7 separate regions of the Homo sapiens genome follow, and all the other regions are linked to region 4. Evidence: promoter capture Hi-C in 16 types of primary human blood cells and fetal thymus (Javierre and others, 2016). All regions are on one chromosome and are shown on one strand. The core of a region is centred on a gene start or on the middle of the fragment in contact, and the rest is flanking DNA. Distances in the headings are between cores, read along the strand shown. Region 1 has its middle 74 kb from the start of LDLRAD4. Region 2 overlaps SEH1L (SEH1 like nucleoporin). Region 3 has its middle 26 kb from the start of LDLRAD4. Region 4 holds the start of FAM210A (family with sequence similarity 210 member A). Region 5 overlaps CEP192 (centrosomal protein 192). Region 6 overlaps CEP192 (centrosomal protein 192). Region 7 overlaps LOC124904255 (a long non-coding RNA gene).

Region 1 (2,921 bases), core at 384-2,883, 580 kb after region 4:
ATATCATGTTGAAATTTAACCCTCAATGTGGCAGTGTTGAGAGGTGGGTCCTAGTGAAAAGTGTTTGGGTGATGGGGGCAGATCCTTCATGAATGGCTTGGTGTCATTTTTGCGATAATGAGTTCTTGCTCTGTTAGTTCCTGTGGGAGCTAGTTGTTAACTAGAACCTGCACCACGCCCCCCTTGCCCTCTTGCTTCCTCTCTCACCATGTGATCTCTGCACATGCTGACTGCTCTTCACCTTCTGCTATGAGTAGATGCAGCCTGAGGCCCTCACCAGATGCAGATGCCCAGCTTTGCACTTTCCAGCCATCCAGAATTGTGAATCGAATAAACCTTTTCTCTTTATAAATTACCCAACCTCAACCTCAGGTATTCCTTCATAGCCACAAAAAATGGACTAAAACATTCACCATTTTTATTCCCAGCAGCAATGCAGGTTTCCAATTTCTCCATATCCTCAGCAAAACTTTTTTTTTTTTTAGTTTTTTTTTTTATTTTTATTTTGTATAGTGATCATCCTAATGGGCATGAGATGATATCCCACTGTGGTTTTGATTTGCATTTCCCTGGTGATTAATGATGATGTTGCACATCTTTTCATACGTTTGTGGGCAATTTGTGTATCTTATTTGGAGAAATGTCTATTAAAGTCTTTTATCTAGTTTTTAATCAGCATGTTTGTTTTTTTGTTGTTGTTGAGTTGTAGGAGTTCTTTATAAATTCTGGATATTAACGTGTTATCAGATAAATGACTGGCAAATGTGTTCTTTCATTCTGTGGGTTGCCTTTTCACCATGTTGACTGTTTCCTTTGTCACACAGAAGTTTTTAAGTTTGACATAGTCCCATTTGTCTATTTTCTGTTTTGGTGTGACAGTCAAGAAATCAACGCCAATTCCAATGCCATAAAGCTTTTTCCCCTTTCCTTTCAGGGTTTTACAGTTTGGGATCTTACATTTAGGATTTTGTCCATTTTGAGGTAACTTTTGTATATGGTATAAGGTAAGAGCCCAAATTCATTCTTTTGCATGTGGATATCCTGTTTCCCCAACAACATTTGTTGAGGAGATTATCTTTCCTCACTGTGTAGCCTTGTCAAAGATTATTTGACAATATATGTGAGGGTTTATTTCTGGACTCTATTCTGTCTTTATGCCAGTATCATACTGTTTTGATCACTATAGCTTTGCAATATGTTTTGAAATCAGAATGTGTAAGGCCTCCAGTTTTTTTTTTCCCTACAAGATTGCTTTGGCTATTTGGGGTCCTTTGAGATTTTGAGGATGGACCTGTAAGTAGAATCAGATGTCACTCCTTTGATCATGTCACATTTTATAGCAAAAGAGGGATCATCAAGGGTGGGTCTGACCTATTCAGATGAGCCCTTTGAAGCCTGGAGTTTGATGCACTCTGCTGGTCTGGAAGAAAGCAAGCCCAGTCAGCTCTTCATATCCACGGTTCCACATGCATGGATTAAACCAACTACTTACCAAAAATACAGTATTTGTGGAATGCAGAACCCGCAGATCTGGAGAGTGGATGCTGCCTCTTCCTACCCACGGGTTCTGCAGGGCCGACTGCAGGTCAGGAGAACCTGCTGATTTTGCTATCTGCACAGGTCCCAGGAACCCAGGACCAATCCCCCACAGATACCAACCAGGAAAGGACGCATCTATGTTGTGATCTGCTGAAGAAGCTGGGAAACCTCTAGGAGGAGACAGGGACTCCTGGCTGATGGCCAAGAAGAAATTGAATGCTGCCAAATACTGAATGAGTTTGGAAGAGGATTCCAAGCTGCAGATGAGAATGTAGCTGACTGACACCTCGATTTCAGCCTCCTGAGACCATGAGCAGAGAATCCGCCAGGCAGTGCTGGCTTCTGACCTACAGAACTGTGAGAAAAAGGCAGGCATTATTTTCAGCCACTGAGTTTGTGGTAGTTTTGAAACCTGACCAATTGTCCCATAAAACTGATGTTTATCATTTCTTTTGAATAAACATAGAAATTGACCCTCTCAGTCTTAAAACTTGAGAAAGTTACATTTGTCTTATCTGAGTTCCTTTCTCAGGAAACCGACCATCAGGACTCCCAGGTAGTATCAAGGAGCTGAAACTTACAAGCTCACAGCCTCTGGAGGATGAGTGGCCAGGCCCTCAACCCTCATGATTGCCTGAGCACCACCTGCTGCCTGTTGACCAACTCCTCTTCCTCATTCTTCCCTAATTACTGTTTTCCTGCATGTAGTTACATTTCTTCCCTTCTATATAAACTCCCAATTTTAGATAGTCAGAGAGACGGACTTGAGACTGAATTCCCATCTCTTCAGCTGCAGCACCCGATTAAAGCTTTCTTCCCTGCCAATACTGGTTGTCTTGATGACTGGCTTTCTGTGCTGTGAGCAGCAGGACCTAGACCAAACCCCTGGTGTTTGGGTAATCATTTGTTATGCAACAATAGAAAACTAATATAGGGGATGCAAACACAATATGCATTTGTTTATCTGTATACACTCCTCTGTCCTCTGCTAGATTTTTTTTTTTTTTTTTGGCAGGATCTTGCTGTCACCCAGACTGGATGGAGTTCAGTGGTGTGATCCTGGTTCATTGCAGCCTCCACATCCTGTATTCAATTGATACTCCTATCCCAGCCTCCCAAGTAGCTGGGACTACAGGCATGCACCACTGGGCCAGGCTAATTTTTGTATTTTTTGTAGAGATGGAGTTTTGCCGTGTTGCCCAGGTTGATCTCAAACTCCTGGCCTCAAGCAATCCACCCGCCTTGGCCTCCTGATGTGCTAGGATTACAGGCGTGAGCCACCATGCTCAGCCTCCATTTCTAATAAGAGTAAATCTGCTTTGCATACTGGTGGGCAATTTGGCTTTTCACTCAATAATATAGCTTACATTTTTATATCACAA
Region 2 (3,066 bases), core at 45-2,544, 750 kb after region 4:
CCCGTCCGGGAGGGAGGTTGGGGGGTCAGCCCCCCGCCCGGCCAGCCGCCCCGTCCGGGAGGGAGGTGGGGGGGTCAGCCCCCCGCCCTGCCAGCCGCCCTGTCCGGGAGGTGAGGGGCGCCTCTGCCCGGCCGCCCCTACTGGGAAGTGAGGAGCCCCTCTGCCCGGCCAGCCGCCCCGACCGGGAGGGAGGTGGGGGGGCCAGCCGCCCCGTCCGGGAGGGAGGTGGGGGGGTCAGCCCCCCGCCCGGCCAGCCGCCCCATCCGGGAGGTGAGGGGTGCCTCTGCCCGGCCGCCCCTACTGGGAAGTGAGGAGCCCCTCTGCCCGGACAGCCGCCCTGTCCGGGAGGGAGGTGGGGGGGGGTCAGCCCCCCGCCCGGCCAGCCGCCCCGTCCAGGAGGGAGGTGGGGGGGTCAGCCGCCCGTCCGGGAGGGAGGTGGGGGGGTCAGCCCCGCGCCCGGCCAGCCGCCCCGTCCGGGAGGTGAGGGGCACCTCTGCCCGGCCGCCCCTACTGGGAAGTGAGGAGCCCCTCTGCCCGGCCAGCCGCCCCGTCCGCGAAGGAGGTGGGGGGGTCAGCCCCCCGCCCGGCCAGCCGCCCCATTCGGGAGGTGAGGGGTGCCTCTGCCCGGCCGCCCCTACTGGGAAGTGAGGAGCCCCTCTGCCCGGACAGCCGCCCCGTCCGGGAGGGAGGTGGGGGGGTCAGCCCCCCGCCCGGCCAGCCGCCCCGTCCGGGAGGGAGGTGGGGGGGTCAGCCCCCCGCCCAGCCAGCCACCCCGTCCGGGAGGTGAGGGGCGCCTCTGCCCGGCCGCCCCTACTGGGAAGTGAGGAGCCCCTCTGCCCAGCCACCACCCCGTCTGGGAGGTGTACTCAACAGCTCATTGAGAACAGGCCATGATGACAATGGTGGTTTTGTGGAATAGAAAGCGGGGAAAGGTGGGGAAAAGATTGAGAAATCGGATGGTTGCCGTGTCTGTGTAGAAAGAAGTAGACATGGGAGACTTTTCATTTTGTTCTATACTAAGAAAAATTCTTCTGCCTTGGGATCCTGTTGATCTGTGACCTTACCCCCAACCCTGTGCTCTCTGAAACATGTGCTGTGTCCACTCAGGGTTGAATGGATTAAGGGTGGTGCAAGATGTGCTTTGTTAAACAGATGCTTGAAGGCAGCATGCTCGTTAAGAGTCATCGCCACTCCCTAATCTCAAGTACCCAGGGACACAAACACTGCAGAAGGCCGCAGGGTCCTCTGCCTAGGAAAACCAGAGACCTTTGTTCACTTGTTTATCTGCTGACCTTCCCTCCACTATTGTCCTATGACCCTGCCAAATCCCCCTCTGGGAGAAACACCCAAGAATGATCAATAAAAAAAAAAAGAAAGAAAAAAAAGTAACTGTAAAAGACCATTTTTAAAAAACATTTCAAAGTTTACATTTTTAAGTAAAACTTCCAGAGCAGAAATATAAACCAAATCATAGTTACCTCTACTCTCTCCTCCACAAACAAAGGTAATCAGAAGGCAAGAGTATTTTCAAATTCATAAATGCTTCTAAAACTCACCTCACAGGCTTTAATGTAAAAATTCTCACATCTTTGGTCGCTATTGCTAGAATATGGAAAGATCTTCCCAAATTTGGAGCGAATGCAATATCATGAACAGGATCAGTGACTGTCATAAGAGTTTCAGCTTTTGCATATTTCCTAATGGAAAAACAATTGACATTAACATTTTAGAAATAAAATGTGCAAAAATCCACACATCACTGCATCTCACCTTTTTTTCACACTGCTCACAATCATGTAGTGCTCACCTCTGTAGTGGGCTCAACAGCAGCCCCCAAAAGAATATGTCCAAGTCCTGACCCCCAGACCCTGTGAATGTGACCTTATTCAAAAATAGCGTCTTTGAAAATGTAATTAAGGACCTCAGAATGACATCCGAGATTTAGGGTGGGTCCTAAATCCAACGTGCAGTAAGTATTCTTTAAAAAGAAGAGAAGAAACGCAGAGACAGAGAGGAGGCAGCCATGTGAACACAGAGGCAGAGATTGGAGTTATGCTGCCACAAGCCAAAGAACTCCCGGAGCCAGCAGGAGCTGGACTAGACCAGGAAGGATTCTAGAGGAAGCACAGCCCCAACACCTTGATTTCAGACTTCCGACCTCCAGAACTGTGAGTGAATACATTTCTGTGTTAAGCCACCTGATTTGTGGTAATTTGTTATGGCAGCCCTAGGAAATTAATACAACCTCCCACGTTTCCTCCTTTAATAATGTACATTTAGCTCGAAACGCTTTAATAAAAATTTAATTACAATAAGGTCTTGGCTGGCCACAGTGGCTCACACCTGTAATCCCAGCATTTTGAGAGGCTGAGGTGGGAGAATTGCTTGAACCCAGTAGTTCAAGACCAGCCTGCGCAACACAGCAAGACCCCATCTTTACAAAAAATACAGAAATAGCTGGGCATGGTGGTGCACACCCATTGTCCCAGCTACTCAGGAGGCTGAGGTGGGAGGATGGCTTGAGCCCAGGAGGCGGAGGTTGCAGTGAGCTGAGATTACGCCACTGCACTCCAGCCTGGGCAACACAGTAAGACTCAACTGCAAAAATAAAAAATAAAAAAGGGCTTGATTTATTAGCCACTAACATCTTTCTTAGGAAAAGAGTAACACATTGCCTAAGTATTTGAATGTAAATAAAAAAGTAAAGCTGGTAACAGGAATTGAGGTTTTTTTGAGACAGTTTCACTCTTGTGCTGGAGTGCAATGGCGCAATCTTGGCTCACTGAAACCTCCGCCTCCTGAGTTCAAGTGATTCTCGTGCTTCAGCCTCCTGAGTAGCTGGGATTACAAGCGTGCACCACTACGCCTGGCTAATTTTGTATTTTTAGTAGAGACAGGGTTTCACCATGTTGGTCAGGCTGGTCTTGAACTCCTGACCTCAGGTGATCCACCCGCCTCTGCCTCCCAAAGTGCTAGGATTACAGGTGTGAGCCACTGCGCCCAGCAGGAATTGAGTTAAGTGATAATAAAAGGAAACTATGCAAAGGCTATTTCATCCTTGCAATT
Region 3 (3,094 bases), core at 33-2,532, 530 kb after region 4:
GAGTTTTTCTTAGTGTCTGCATTAGAATGGGATTTCTGTGTCTTAGGGTATTTTCATCTTGAATTTTTGTTGCATTTTTAAAGCATAACTTTGATGAAATTAAATTTGTAGTGGCCATTTGTGTGCAGTATGCAAACCTTTCCTACCAGCCACCCCATCTCCATGTTGGACCATCTTCCCTTGTGCTTCCTGCTAGAGATCTTTTCCTCCTACCCCATTCAACAGGGGACAACTTGTAAGTAGGCTGGGCCACTGAGATGTTCTGCAGGGCTTAAGAGAGTGGTTTAAAGAAGTGGGAATTACCGGAAGTCAAATTCACCCAAAGGGATGCCCAAGCTGGAGTCGGTATGCTATGTGCCCTCCCTCCAGAGAACACATAGCGCCTGCTTGGGTTCCAGCCCTTGTTCTTACCCTGCCATTGAGCACATGTGCCTACAAGCACCCTTCCTTCCTGGGAGACCTGGAGTCAGATCCTGTTGTTCATGCAGAAGTACTCTGATGGATTGTGGGGAAAAGCAGAAGAGGGCAGGAAGAAAGCAGAATGAGGGAGGGGTAAGGATACAGAGGAGAGGAAAGAGAGAAAAGGATGACAGAGCTTTCACTCTTTTGTTTATTTTTTAATTCAGAGAGCAAACTTCCCCAAGTAAGCAGAAAAAGTGTCTCTTCAGCAATACTAGTAAGGCTTTGCTGGGAAAATTTTAAGACATGTAAAAGAATAATAAAAAACACATAACAATTACAGTGTACTACTTACTAAAATAACGGGCAATGTAGCTTATTTGGAAAAAAAAAAGTTTGTTGTCTCTGGTTATAGGTGTTTTTCCCAAACAAATACCAATATTATAATACCTTTTACGTAAAACTTAATGCTTTTTCTTTTACCTCCTATTTTAATTTGCTTTTTTGATCCTGTAAGTGAAAGGAGAAAGATCTCTGGTTTAAACAAAAAAAAAAAAGACAGGCCAGGCACAGTGGCTCATGCCTGTAATCCCGGCACTTTGGGAGGCTGAGGCGGGTGGATCACCTGAGGTCAGGAGTTCAAGACCAGCCTGGCCAACATGGTGGAATCCCATCTCTACTAAAAATTAGCTTGGCATGGTGGCGGGCACCTGTAATCTCAGCTACTCAGGAGGCTGAGGCAAGAGAATCTCTTGAACCGGGGAGGCAGACATTGCAGCAAGCTGAGATCGCACCGCTGCCAGGCATGGTGGTGAGCACCTGTAATCTCAGCAACTCAGGAGGCTGAGGCAGGAGAATCACTTGAACTGGGGAGGCAGAGGTTGCAGTGAGTTCAGATCGCACCACTGCACTCCAGCCTGGGTGCCAAGAAAAAGGAGTCCGTCTCAAAAAAAAAAAAAAAAGACAAAATATGTTAACATGTAATATAAAAAACAAATTATGTAAAGAAATGTAGAGGAGACTTTTTTCCTTATAGAAACCAGGCGGTTGTTATGTGCTTTGCTGCATAAAAAATTGCCCTATAACTAGGTTAATCAACTTATTAATTTTATTAATAAAATGAGATTTTATTATTTTTTTAAAAACCACTTTATTTGTGCACATTTTTGTGGGTCAAGAATTTGGGAAGTCTGAGCGGGGCAGTTGGTCTCGATGCACATGGCACCAGCGAGGGTGAGGGTGCCAGGATCTATTTGTGAGATGGTTTCTTCCCTCACTTTTCGGCACCCTGGGCTCCTCAGCCTGCCTCCCTTCAAGGCAGCTTATCCTCTGCGGCTTCCCCACAGGCCTTGGGCTTCTCGCTGCAGAGCCTTCTCAGGATATTTGCACTCCTTTCTCCTGGCACCGGGCTTCAGGCCAGTGAAGGGCCCCGCCTGGCACTGGCCCAGCATCACCCTGGAATGTGACCCCCTGCCACATTCTAGGGGGTGGAGAGATAGACTCCACCTCTCCATGAGAAAGCAGCAAGTTCACATTGCAAATGAGCACGGGAGACACAGATATCATTCCAGCAGACTTTAGAAATACACACAGACACATTGTGAAATAATGTTTGCTTTTTATTACTTGGAATCGTCTTGGGGTAAAGAGATCCTCAACTAGAAAAACTAAAGGTTTTTTTATTTAATAATGTTTACCTTTTTTACATAACTTTCCTTTGAAATTAGGAAAATCAAGCATGCTCATGTTAACAAGTGAGACTACCCAAAGATATACATTTTTAAAGTTAACGCAATATCCCCAGCCCTCATTCAATTCCCCTTCCCTGATGTACCCAATGTGTCCCTCCACACACGTTCATATATGTGTCCCTCCACACACGTTCATACAAATTGAAACGCTTGTACATGCAGATGTTTGTTGGCTGTTGTTTTCAGTGGGATAATTGTATGCATCTCACTCTGCCACTTGCTAATCACTTACTAGACCACGAGCAATCTTCCCAGCATGAGTCTAACTCATTTTGTTAGGAATACATAATATTCCATAGTTAGATAGAACTACAATTTATCCAACCATTCCCTTTGTAGCAGAGATTTTTCACAGTTCATCAATATCCTGTTACCCTTCCGAGCATGCATGCCTTGAAGTCTAGCATAACCAGGGCTTCATTCTCATCACTTTGCAGTGCAAGCCTTAGGGCCTGCTTCCTCCAGCTGTGGCAAGAGTGAACATGCATCCCGGGAGAGACCCTCCGCCTGGCCTCCCAAGGGCAATTTGTGCAGCTCTTCTGCAGTCTTGCAAGGAAAACTGTTTTAGGCCATTTATTTTTTTGAGCTATTTGGCTTATTTCCTTTGGATAAAGTAGTATATCCTAACTTGTACAGCCCTATTGGTGGACATTAGGTCATTTGGGTTTTTTTTGCCACTGCAACAATGCTGCAATAAACTTTCATACACACACACACACACACACACACCCGCACACACGCACACACACACACACGCCACTGATTCTCTCATTTTTATAGGATAGACTCTTAAAGGTTGATTGCTGGGTCAAATGATTTTAATTTTGTGTTTTGGTTTGTTTGTGGTTTTTTTTTGAGATAGGGTCTTGCTGTGTTGCCCAGGCTGGAATGCAGTGGTGCCATCACAGCTCACTGCAGCCTCAACCTGCTGAGCTCCAACAACC
Region 4 (2,813 bases), core at 46-2,545:
AGACAATATCATGTTGTTACTCATGTGGGAGCTAAAAATGTGGACCTGATGGAGGTAAAGAGTGGATTGGTGGTTACCACAGACTGGGAAGGGTAGCAGGAAGAGGAGCGGGATGAAGAAGAGAAATTGGTTAATGGGTACAAAAAACCCCAGAAGAAATAAAATCTAGTGCCTGATAGTACAGTGGGGTGGACACAGTTAACAATAACTTATTGTGTAGTTCAAAATAGCTAAAAGAAAAATTGGAATGTTCCCAACATAAAGATAAATGTTTGAGATGACAAATATCCCAATTGCCCTGATTTAGTCGTTACACATTGTATGCATGTATCAAAGTATCACCTGCACCTGCAAATATGTGCAACTTCTATGTATCAATTTAACAAATTGGGGGAAAAAAAACCCAAACCAAACTCAAAGTGGAATAATGAAAACACTCCATAGGGAAGAGAGCTGTCCCTCAGAATCTTCAAGAAACCTTCGAAAGGTGGTCGACTGACATGGAGATGGACACGCGATAAATAACCACACGAACATTTCGACCCGGCTTTCCAGTCACACCTCCGAAGCAAGCTATGTCTCTGCGTCATTTCAGCTCCTCAGGGTACGAGCGAGCAGGCCGCCAGGGCCGCCGGGATAAAGCCCAAGCGGGATAAGCTCTAAGTCCCGACCCGCCCGCTTGACCCTCTACCACGGGGCCCGAGAGGACGCACAGAGGCGAGAAGGGACTTCTCCAGCCAAGTTCACCCCCTCCGTCATTAGCGCGGCCTGTTACTCAACCTCTGGTTCAGGTTTCCGAAGCGCCGCTGAAGACAAACCTGCGGACCCCACGCCCCTCCCCAGCACGGCCCTGGGGCGCGAGCTGGAGCAGCTCTTCGAGCTGCTTCTCCCACCCGGGCTCGCCCAGTCTGGAGGAGGAACAGCGCCCGCCCACCCCAAGGAGTTCCCATTTTCCTTGGGACTGAGGACACAAGGCAATAGACCCACGCGTTGGGTAGTGAAGCACAGGGCTAATGCGAAGTGAGCCCATGTCAGGGGTGGGAGTGCCAGTTCCACCCCTCCACGGCGGCCGAGGGACAAACACAAAGAAAGGAAGGGCCGGAGTTCCAGCCGTCACACTCACCAGCACAGCCAAACGCGATTCTGTTTGCGGAAACGGCGGCCCGCGCCACGCGTGTCTGCTTACGTCACTTCCGGAGGTGCGAGAGTCACGTGGAGACGGTCAGGCGAGAGTGCCGCGACGCACGTCCTCCGCGCCGGAACTACGAGTCCCGACGTGCCGCGCGCGGCATGCAGAAGCTTCACTGAGCGGGCACTGGAGGTCGCGAGCACGTTGCTAGTGGGCGCGGCTGGCGGGGCCGGGGGCGGCAGGGGGCTAGCGTCCGGCTGAGCCCGGCGGGTTCCTGCACGCGGACCCACGCTTTGTCGGGCTGCTCTGCTGAGTGACACCGCCGTGGCATCCGAGGAGCTGTGGTCCAGCCTGCGCGGCGGGAAGCGGCGGCGGCGGCTCCAGCGTCCTAAGAGGTAGCATGGGCCCAGGCCTCTGTGGGGCAGCGGGAGGGGTCTAGAGGGCACCTTCAACCCTGGGCGTGTGTCCGGGAGCTGACTCGCGGCGCGAACCCGGCAACTGCTCCGCGTGCGCCGCTCTTCGGGCTGTGGCAGTGTACGACTGCCAGACGGGTCGTCCACACTCGCCGACCCCACAGACCCCGGCGGCCGAGAGAGGTCCCCCCGCCCTTCCGGGTCGAGCCAGTGTCCTGGCAAATCTTGCTTTGGGACTGTTTTTCAGCCTCCTTTGCTGTAACCCTTCACCGTGTTCTCCCCCCTTCTTCCGAAGCCAGTTGAAGAGGGGCCCGGAAGCGCCCGCGTTCGGAATGGTTTTTAAAATTAGCAATTTCTTATTAGGGACTGGCAGACTGGTCCTTACCGCCGTGTTTGGGAAGCCACAAGAGGCCATTCTTACCTGTTAGATTCTGAGAAAAGGGACCGCCTATACCTCTTCTTGACAAATACCTAAGGATGCATTAGTCTGCGTTGGCTGAACTTGGCATGGTGTGGTTTGGGGGAGACAACACACTTTTTTTGGCCATCACCCCAGATTTCTACTGGGGAGTGAAAGCGCCTACTGTACTGAAACTCGAAAGCTCCATAGTTGAGGACTTTCAACCTGAGATCAGGGTCAAAACTACCTGTGGATAGATTATTGAAGCGTGTGCATATTAACGTCGTGCGTCAAGTCCCCACCTTCCAAGGTTGTAAAACTGATCAGATTTACAATCCGTCTTGAATTACTCTTTACCAAAATTGATCCATTTAAAACAGCTTTGAAAATGTGCTTTACCAGCCTTCCTTCTTGTCAGTAGGCACAGGTATATTAATGAATAGACCTGGCTTTGGGGAAGGCAGCATTTGCAGCGTTGTGCTTTCCAATCTAATCACTTCTAAATTGTGGGCATTAGCCCATTTGAGGTTACAAACTTTGAACCAAGAATGAGGCCTATTTTTCACAAATAAGGATGACCCATCAATTTCTGATGACTGCTTGTATTTGTTATTATATGAAATGAGGTAAGTTGAGAATTAATCTCATTACATGAATATTGACAACTGCAAAAGTGTAGGTCTTACAGATCGAATGCATTATAGGCATATACAAGCATTAGAACCAGGCAATTACATTCCCTGTTCCTGATGCTTAAGTTTCTTGAGATAATTGCTGTTGTAATTTTACAGAAAATGAGTGTAATTTTGACTTTTAAAAACATGTTTTAATGTTTTTAAACACCGGGTGCAGTGGCTCACTTCTGTAATCC
Region 5 (3,019 bases), core at 12-2,511, 690 kb after region 4:
CTCATGATAGTGAATAAGTCTCACGAGATCTGATGGGTTTATCAGAGGTTTCCACTTTTGCTTCTTCCTCATTTTTTCTCTTGCTGCCGCCATGTAAGAGGTGCCTTTTGCCTCCCACCATGATTCTGAGGCTTCCCTAGCCACGTGGAACTGTAAGTCCAAGCAAACCTCTTTTTGTTCCCAGTTTCGGGTATGTCTTTATCAGCAGCATAAAAACAAACTAATACAGAAGGTAACCCAAAAGAAACTTAATTTACTTTGAGGAGTTAAATATCACCTGGTTTTTAAATAATTGACCGAACAGCTCAAAATAGGATTTATTATATTCCTAAATGCTTTTTCTCTGAACTATAAGGGATTCATCAAAGAAACATCTATATTAACACTGTTATCTTGTCTACTCATCAGAAATCAATCACAGCCAATAAGAAAGCAGAACTTCACTTTTTATGAGAATCTATGCCAATTCTTTGGCATACCTAAAACAACAATCCTCTTGTACTGAATGCTTCCGAGGCCAAACGTGGAAGCAGCCCATTTGTGTTTCCCCCACTGTCGAACTCTCAGGTCATAAGCGGCAGCAATGCAGCACCTTGAATAGATGGAGCTGAGCTGTCGGCAAGGAGGAAGGCAGGCATGGGGAAGAAGAGGAGGCAGGCTTTTTTTTTTTTTTTTTTATGAGACAGAGTTTTGCTCTGTCGCCTAGTCTGGAGGGCAGTGGTGCAATCTCGGCTCACTGCAAGCTCTGCCTTCTGGGTTCACGCCATTCTCCTGCCTCAGCCCCCTCCTGAGTAGCTGGGACTACAGGTGCCCACCACCACACCCAGCTAATTTTTTGTATTTTTTTTTTTTTTAGTAGAGACAGGGTTTCACCATGTTAGCCAGGATGGTCTCGATCTCCTGACCTGGTGATCCACCCACCTTGGCCTCCCAAAGTGCTGGGATTACAGGCGTAAGCCACTGCGCCCGGCCGAGGCAGGCTCTCTTAAGGAACTGTTCTGAATAAAGTTTATAAGTAGGCAAATTTTCATTTAAAATGACTTGGACGTTACAAGATTACACCCTTTTTTCCAACCTTCCTTTTCTGAATATCTCCTTTTATTACATTTTTAAAGTTCCTTTCTCCTTTTCAGTAAAAAGGCTCCCATTTCATTAATGCTACCTCCACCCCTATTTCCCTGGATCTAGTCCATCCTTCCCAGCACCCATCAGGTTTTCTGTCCACCAACCTTTTTAATAGCTTTCCATCTCCCCGTTTCCCTTTCCTCCCCACCCATGCTAGTCATCCTTTCCAACCAGACTAGTATTCATTCCCTAAGCACAAGGATGGTTTCATTCAATCTTTCCGTTATCATTTTTTATTTTTTAATAGTAATACATCTAATAATTCAAATTTAAAAGGTGTATTTATGACACCACAATAAAGAGCTTTTCAAAGTTAACCAAAGACTTACAAGGGTATATACTGAAAACTATCTCCCCATCCCTGACCCTAGTTTCCCACACCCCCAGAAGCAACCAACAGCTAAAATATTTCTGAAATGTCTATCTGAATTTTTGATTTCTGAGTTCAAGTAACTAGACATTCCTGTAGTCAGTATCTTGTTTTATCTTTCCATTGTATGTATTTACAAATATCTGTATGTACATCCTCCCCTCTCCTACCTTTCTACACAAATGTTAGAATACTTTATGTGCTTTGAGGTGGACTTTATCTTTAATTTATTCCAGTGATCATTCCATTTGAGTAACTAAAGAGCTCCTTTACCATTCTGTATAGCCACAGGGTACCTCCTTGTATGGATGCACCTTAATTTATACCCTATTTTGTCCATCTACATTGCTTCTAACGTTGTTATCACAGACAATGCTGCAAGTAATGAGCCTGCACATACACCATGTATCATTTATGCAAGTGTATCTGAAGAATAAATTCCCAGAAGCAGAACTGCTCGGTTACAGGATAGTACATGCGTAACTTTGCTAGATGCTGCAATGTCATTATAGGTAGACGCGGTGCCAAGAATGGACTAGCATACCTGTGTCCCTCACATCTTTGCTAAGACAGTTTTATCACCAAACTTTTGGATCACTACCAAGGAAATAACTGAAAAATACTATGACTGGGTGGATTTACACTGCATTTCTTTCCATGATTAAAAATGAACATTTTTTGTTGTACATTTAACGATCGTTTTTATTTCTTTTTCTATAAATTGTTTCCAATTTTGGGGTAGTTGGTCTTTTTCTTATTGTTTATTGGAACTGTTTATATATTAGGGGAATGGGCTTTAAACCTGTAATATGAATTGCAAATCTTTTATTCTCAGTTTGCTAATTTTTAAAAACTTTTTACGATAGAGAGGTGAAGTGTACAGCTCAAGGAATTTTCACAATCTGAACACATCTGCATAGCCAACAGCACAGATTAAGAAGCATAATACTGCCAGTACCCAAACCACCCGAGCCTGCTTCCCATGCTACCTGCCCATCCACATGTAGCCACTGCCCTGTGGCTGGCTCTGCAGGAGTGCATTGCCCAGCTGTATACAAATAGAACTATAGAGTGTGTGTTCTTAGTCAGCTTTACGTCATTCCACATGTTCCTGAGATTCATCCATGTTGTTGCATGTAACTTCACATCACTCATTCTCATTGCAACCTAATATTCCAGGGTATGAATAAACATAATCCATTCTATGGCTGAGGGAGGGGAGGGTGATTCTGCAGTGACTTGGAAACTTCCACTGCTAATGGGAATTTGAGAATTTGGGGCTGATACAACTAGTGCTGCTATAAACATTTTAGTATGTCTTTTGGTGAATACATACGCCCTATTCTGCTGCATATGTACTCAGGTGTACAATTATTAGGTCATTAAGTATGAAGTTCATAAAGTTCACCCTTACAAGACACTGCCAAACAGGTTTCCAAAATGGCTGTACCAATTTACACTCCCACCAGCAACACATGAGAATTCCATGATCTTTTAAGTGATAAATATCCACCATTCGGTCTG
Region 6 (3,044 bases), core at 377-2,876, 600 kb after region 4:
TATTCTAGAAACTTTACTTTCAGATTACAGTATATAGAGGCAGGTAACAAGTGCCCTATGGTTAAAAACAGTATTCTAGGGGGTTTGTTTTTGTCCCTAAAACTATGTCCTAAGAGCTTCAAAATACACCTCAAAATATGCAATTTAACAAGTTATTCACAGTGTGAATGAGGCTACAAACACATTACACACAGCCCATGTGATGTCATCAACGTCTAGGCTTAGGCGTTTTTAAGTGAAAGTTCTGAGCTCACAGGGAAGGTACTTCACCCCTTAGTCTCGTCTCAGAGCTGTGTGTTTTAAAGACTGGCAACCAGAAGTGATGTACGTTTCGGTTTCCAGCATCTGTCCTGAAAATCCCAGCAGTGTCGCTCTTGGGTGCACAAGAGTACACCGGGCATGAGGTTTAGAAAACAGCTTCAGTATTTCAAAGCCCTTTTCCTGGATATAACTGATAACACAAATAGTGTATGTTCTTAAATATATCTATATAGAGCAAAGGTGTGTATGTGTATCTCTATATGTTTTTATTTAAAGTCTGGGTTATTTTCCCCAAATGCATTACATTTGTTTTACCATGTCAAAGATAATGTACTTTTTAAAAAAAATCTAACCTGGCCCATGGCATTAGCTACAATTTTCTCTTGCATGTTGGTGGTCAATACTTGGATAAATATAGTACCATTTGCCTATTTAAGAGGCTTTATAACTTATGAATTAGTAAAAATAATAAAATAGCCCCAAAAAAATCTCTGGAAGAACTCATTATTAATAAATTTCATCACAGAATATAGAATTGTTCTATATTAACCTGAAAATTTAAGTATATTGTGATTAAAAATATATCATCTGCTTTAGATTTACAGATACACTGAATAAAATGGAATGCAATTTAGAAAGAACCACAACATTTAATACAGCTATAGAACACTCCCAGCAAGATGGATATATTTTAAAAAGTACTTTGTAATACTATTATTGAGAACTAATTTAATCTCTACACACACACACACACACACACACACACGGGAAAAGGTAGCAGGAAAGTCCTCTGAACCCAGTGGGGAGGTCTAGTTCAGATCCTCTCTCTAGCTAATGATAGATGTAATTGCAAAGGCACGCAGAGCAGAAATGCATCTAGGGAGCAGAGAGGCCATCAGGCTGTGCACACTCAGCCCCCAACTCCCTGCAGGCCCCATCTACATGGAAAGGGCTTAGTGGAACCTACAAATTCTAGCAACCACACTTCCTTCCTTCCTTTCAAAACATTTTTTTTTTTCAGACGGATTCTCGCTCTGTCGCCCAAGCTGGAGTGCAGTGGCACGATCTCAGCTCACTGCAACCTCTGTTTCCCTGGTTCAAGCCATTCTCCTGCCTCAACCTCCTGAGTAGCTGGGACTACAGGCATATGCCACCAGGCCCGGCTACTTTGTTTTTTTGAGACGGTGTCTCGCTCTTTTGCCAGGCTGGAGTGCAGTGGCACGATCTCGGCTCACTGCAACCTGTGCCTCCCAAGTTCAAGCGATTCTTCTGCCTCAGCCTCCTGAGTAGCTAGGATTACAGACATGCGCCACCTTGCCCAGCTAATTTTTGTATTTTTAGTAGAGACGGGGTTTCACCATGTTGGCCAGGATGGTCTTGATCTCTTGACCTCGTGATTCACCCGCCTCCGCCTCCCAAAGTGCTGGGATTACAGGCATGAGCCACCGCGCCTGGCCTGCTTTTTGCATTTTTAGTAGAGACAGGGTTTCACATGTTGGCCAGGCTGATCTTGAACTCCTGACCTCAGATGACCCGCCCGTCTTGGCCTCCCAAAATGTTGGGATCACAGGCATGGGCCACCATGCCCGGCCCAAAACATTTTTTTAAAGGAACAGTTTCCACAGAAAAAAAGCCAGTACACTAGCACATACAAGGTACCACCATTATCAAAGAAACTGAAAAAGGTAATAAAATTTGTTCCCACACATGGGTGAGAAGTCACTGCAGCTCAATGATAACTCTATTCCTTGGCTTGTCACTTTTCTAGGAACTGTCCTTCTCTCCCAAATGACATGCAGGGTCTGCCAGGATTGTGCACCTTGCACTGTGCAAGGACATGAGGGCACAGTTGAGGTGGAACCTATTAGCTACAACACCTCAGCTGGGGTTAGATGGTCATAAAATAATAGGTTAAGAGAAAGATGCTTTTGGGGACTAAGTAGAAACATAAATTCTTTTAAAAAAGATATAAGAAAGAGATGATCTCTCAGAACCCTCAAAAAAGAACCTTTACAAGAAAACCTGTTAGTAATGTTTCCTTTTCCCTATAACCTTACTTATAATCTATCATACATTCGTGTTCACCCACCTCTGCACTGAGCAAAACCCCTGTACCTTCTTGGGGGAACTCTTCTGCCTCCTTAAGCTAGAATCAGCTTACAGCCTGTAAGGAGCAGCCACTTTCCTGTGCTAGTGCTGGAGCTTTCGGAGAGCAGCCCCACCAGGCCTTCCGGTGGCCTTGGAAAAAGTGCATATTTGTAAGTAATCATCTCCTGTACCCTACAGATGACTACAATCCTATTATTGCTTTGGAAATGTGTAGTTAATGGTGTCATAGAGCACACAGTGATCTAACAAATGAAAAATGTGATTAACTAAAGGCTGGGAATTGCTTCTCAGGGCTTTAAGAACACAGATTTTGTTGCACTGCCAAGGCAAGCTAACTGCTGCTCTCATCTGGCAATTATGTATTGTGAACCTTTGTCTAAAGTCACAGTGTCTCGTGTCTGGGACAAATACAATAGCACACAATGCCGTAAGTCCCCATGACTTCAGTTCTGTGGTAAGAACTGTCACTGGGGTTCCTGTGGTATCTGCCTCTACTGTCCTGCTGCTTCTCCAAGGTCAACACAGGTCATTCTCTGTTACAAAGGAGCCAGTGTTTCCACCTTTCTTTGCGTAAAATAAAGTTTCCTATAACCCAGAGTTTAGTTCATTTAGTTAAACAGATCACAGAATTAGTGCTTTATACACATGATTTTCTTACTCATACTTTACCAAAT
Region 7 (2,911 bases), core at 245-2,744, 520 kb after region 4:
GCGGGTGGCGGTGGTGGGAAGAGCATCAGGTTAAATAGCTAATGCATGCCGGGCTTAATACCTAGGTGATGGGTTGATGGGTGGAGCAAACCATCATGGCACACATTTACCTATGTAACAAACCTGCACGTCCTGCACATGGACCCCGGAAATTAAAATAAAATAAAATTTTTTTAAACCCATGAAACTGCTGGCACACACAACATGGATAAATGCCACAAAAACTTATTTGAATGACAGAATTCAGGCTCAAAAGAATAGTAACATATGGTTTTATTTGTGTGATGTTCCAAAACAGGAGAAGCTAACCGATGATGATAGAAGTTAGATCCATGGTCACTCAGGATGGTAGTGGGTGGGAAGGGGCAAGAGAGCCCTTGGGGGAGAGGGAAATGATCTGTCTTCATCTAGTGTGGTTGCAGGGGTATATGCATATGTAAAAATTCATTAGCTTTATGCTAGTGAATTCATTAGCTGTGTGTAAACGTCATACACATTTATATTATAACACCACATTTTTAAGGTTTTGCAAAAAGGGAACTCTTGGATGTGGGAGGACTTTGTAAGGCGGGGTCACTCAGCAGCAGAGCCAGCTCTCTCAGGCGGGGAAAAGCAGAGAGGCAGTCTGCCCACTGGATTAGACTCCCCAGACACCTCGCAGGCCTCCTCCCTCCACAGGAAAGGGCTCAGCTCACTCCCCTGGGCTGAATGAAGTGCCGCTGAGGAGTGCCTGAAGCTCATTGCCTGCAGACACTCACGCTGCACTGAGGCTTTAAACAGCTCATTTCCACTCCATTCCTTGACACGCCTTTGGAAGCTGCCTTTGGCATTCTTTTTTTTTTTTTTTAATTATACTTTAAGTTCTAGGGTACATGTGCACAAAACGCAGGTTTGTTACATATGTATACATGTGCCACGTTGGTGTGCTGCACCAGTTAACTCATTATTTACATTAGGTATATCTCCTTATGCTATCCCTCCCCACTCCTCCTCCCCCACGACAGGCCCCGGTGTGTGATGTTCCCCACCCTGTGTCCAAGTGTTCTCATTGTTCAGTTCCCACCTATGAGTGAGAACATGCAGTGTTTGGTTTTCTGTCCTTGCGATAGTTTGCTCAGAATGATGCTTTCCAGTTTCATTCATGTCCCTACAAAGGACATGAACTCATCATTTTTTATGGCTGCATAGTATTCCATGGTGTATATGTGCCACATTTTCTTCATCCAGTCTATCATTGATGGACATTTGGGTTTGTTCCAAGTCTTTGCTATTGTGAATAGTGCCGCTATAAATATACATGTGCATGTGTCTTTATAGCAGCATGATTTATAATCCTTTGGGTATATGCCCAGTAATGGGATTGCTGAGTCAAATGGTATTTCTAGTTCTAGATCCTTGAGGAATTGCCACACTGTCTTCCACAATGGTAGTTCAACCATTTACACTCCCACCAACAGTGTAAAAGCATTCCTATTTCTCCACATCCTCTCCAGCACCTGTTGTTTCCCGACTTTTTAATGATCGCCATTCTAACTGGTGTGAGATGGTATCTCATTGTGGTTTTGATTTGCATTTCTCTGATGGCCAGTGATGATGAGCATTTTTTTCATGTGTCTGTTGGCTGCATAAGTGTCTTCTTTTGAGAAGTGTCTGTTCATATCCTTTGCCCACTTGTTGATGGGGTTGTTTGTTTCTTTCTTGTAAATTTGTTTAAGTTCTTTGTAGATTCTACATATTAGCCCTTTGTCAGATGGGTAGATTGTAAAAATTTTCTCCCATTCTGTAGGTTGCCTGTTCACTCTGATGGTAGTTTCTTTTGCTGTGCTGAAGCTCTTTAGTTAATTAGATCCCATTTGTCAATTTTGCCTTTTGTTGCCATTGCTTTTGGTGTTTTAGTTATGAAGTCCTTGCCCATGCCTATGTCCTGAATGGTATTGCCTAGGTTTTCTTCTAGGGTTTTTATGGTTTTAGGTCTAACATTTAAGTATTTAATCCATCTTGAATTAATTTTTGTATAAGATGTAAGGAAGGGATCCAGTTTCAGCCTTCTACATATGGCTAGCCAGTTTTCCTAGCACCATTTATTAAATAGGAAATCCTTTCCCCATTTCTTGTTTTTGTCAGGTTTGTCAAAGGCTCTATTCTGTTCCATTGGTCTATATCTCTGTTTTGGTACCATTACCATGCTGTTTTGGTTACTATAGCCTTGTAGTATAATTTGAAGCCGGGTAGCATGATGCTTCCAGCTTTGCTCTTTTGGCTTAGGATTGTCTTGGCAATGTGGGCTCTTTTTTGGTTCCATATGAACTTTAAAGTAGTTTTTTCCAATTCTGTGAAGAAAGTCATTGGTAGCTTGATGGGGATGGCATTGAATCTCTAAATTACCTTGGGCATTATGGCCATTTTCACAGTATTGATTCTTCCTATCCATGAGCATGGAATGTTCTTCCATTTGTTTGTGTCCTCTTTTATTTCATTGAGCAGTGGTTTGTAGTTCTCCTTGAAGAGGTCCTTCACATCCCTTGGTAAGTTGGATTCCTAGGTAATAATACCATACATCTACAACCATCTGATCTTTGGCATTCTTTAACCTCATTCCACCTGGAAAGGTGGGGACGCATAGTGAGACTTTAGGCCTGGGTCACAGATTCTGCCTCAGGAATTTCTCTGCTCTGTCCAGTTCAGCCTGCAAGACTTAAGAACCTCATGTTTCGTTTAAAGTTTGAATTATTTGTTGGGCAGTCCGTTAGATGGCAATGATTAAATTAAATGCTTGAAGTAAAAAGGGTAAAGTGCTGTTGGTAGGAGTGTACGTTAGTTCAGCCATCGTGGAAGACAGTGTGGCGATTCCTCAAAGACCTAAAGACAGAAATACCATTCAACCCAGCAATCCCATTACTGGACATATACA

The links. Contacts are between HindIII fragments. The CHiCAGO score rates a contact against its expected background, and 5 or more counts as called.
Region 1: a fragment that was not itself captured here is called in contact with the fragment with the promoter of FAM210A in region 4 in 4 of 17 cell types (monocytes, naive CD8 T cells, non-activated CD4 T cells and 1 more); the score reaches 7.7 in monocytes.
Region 2: a fragment that was not itself captured here is called in contact with the fragment with the promoter of FAM210A in region 4 in 2 of 17 cell types (naive B cells and total CD4 T cells); the score reaches 5.7 in naive B cells.
Region 3: a contact is called between a fragment that was not itself captured here and the fragment with the promoter of FAM210A in region 4, in 1 of 17 cell types (non-activated CD4 T cells). The highest score is 5.1, in non-activated CD4 T cells.
Region 5: a contact is called between a fragment that was not itself captured here and the fragment with the promoter of FAM210A in region 4, in 2 of 17 cell types (total CD4 T cells and naive B cells). The highest score is 5.4, in total CD4 T cells.
Region 6: a contact is called between a fragment that was not itself captured here and the fragment with the promoter of FAM210A in region 4, in 2 of 17 cell types (M0 macrophages and monocytes). The highest score is 6.0, in M0 macrophages.
Region 7: a fragment that was not itself captured here is called in contact with the fragment with the promoter of FAM210A in region 4 in 12 of 17 cell types (naive CD4 T cells, non-activated CD4 T cells, total CD4 T cells and 9 more); the score reaches 16.8 in naive CD4 T cells.

What each region holds. Positions count from the first base shown.
Region 1 is chr18:13,143,100-13,146,020 of GRCh38, reverse strand. No RefSeq gene overlaps it. Among named protein-coding and RNA genes, the nearest start is that of LDLRAD4, 74 kb to the left of the region's middle. The HindIII fragment of the contact is 1,435 bases long and covers 916-2,350 here.
Region 2 is chr18:12,977,383-12,980,448 of GRCh38, reverse strand. It overlaps SEH1L (SEH1 like nucleoporin), which reads right to left. Exons shown (of 9, transcript NM_001013437.2): 6 at 1,557-1,697. Among named protein-coding and RNA genes, the nearest start is that of CEP192, 12 kb to the left of the region's middle. The HindIII fragment of the contact is 8,388 bases long and covers 1-3,066 here.
Region 3 is chr18:13,190,733-13,193,826 of GRCh38, reverse strand. No RefSeq gene overlaps it. Among named protein-coding and RNA genes, the nearest start is that of LDLRAD4, 26 kb to the left of the region's middle. The HindIII fragment of the contact is 6,980 bases long and covers 1-3,094 here.
Region 4 is chr18:13,725,040-13,727,852 of GRCh38, reverse strand. It overlaps FAM210A (family with sequence similarity 210 member A), which reads left to right and starts at 1,295. Exons shown (of 4, transcript NM_152352.4): 1 at 1,295-1,524. It overlaps RNMT (RNA guanine-7 methyltransferase), which reads right to left and starts at 1,180. Exons shown (of 12, transcript NM_003799.3): 1 at 1,124-1,180. RefSeq lists an enhancer at 1,192-2,117. The HindIII fragment of the contact is 3,253 bases long and covers 1-1,301 here.
Region 5 is chr18:13,032,479-13,035,497 of GRCh38, reverse strand. The region is part of intron 11 of CEP192 (centrosomal protein 192); the gene reads right to left. Among named protein-coding and RNA genes, the nearest start is that of CEP192, 43 kb to the right of the region's middle. The HindIII fragment of the contact is 5,250 bases long and covers 1-3,019 here.
Region 6 is chr18:13,120,816-13,123,859 of GRCh38, reverse strand. The region is part of intron 44 of CEP192 (centrosomal protein 192); the gene reads right to left. Among named protein-coding and RNA genes, the nearest start is that of LDLRAD4, 96 kb to the left of the region's middle. The HindIII fragment of the contact is 4,916 bases long and covers 1-3,044 here.
Region 7 is chr18:13,209,446-13,212,356 of GRCh38, reverse strand. All of the region lies in intron 1 of LOC124904255 (a long non-coding RNA gene), which reads left to right. Among named protein-coding and RNA genes, the nearest start is that of LDLRAD4, 7.9 kb to the left of the region's middle. The HindIII fragment of the contact is 7,533 bases long and covers 1-2,911 here.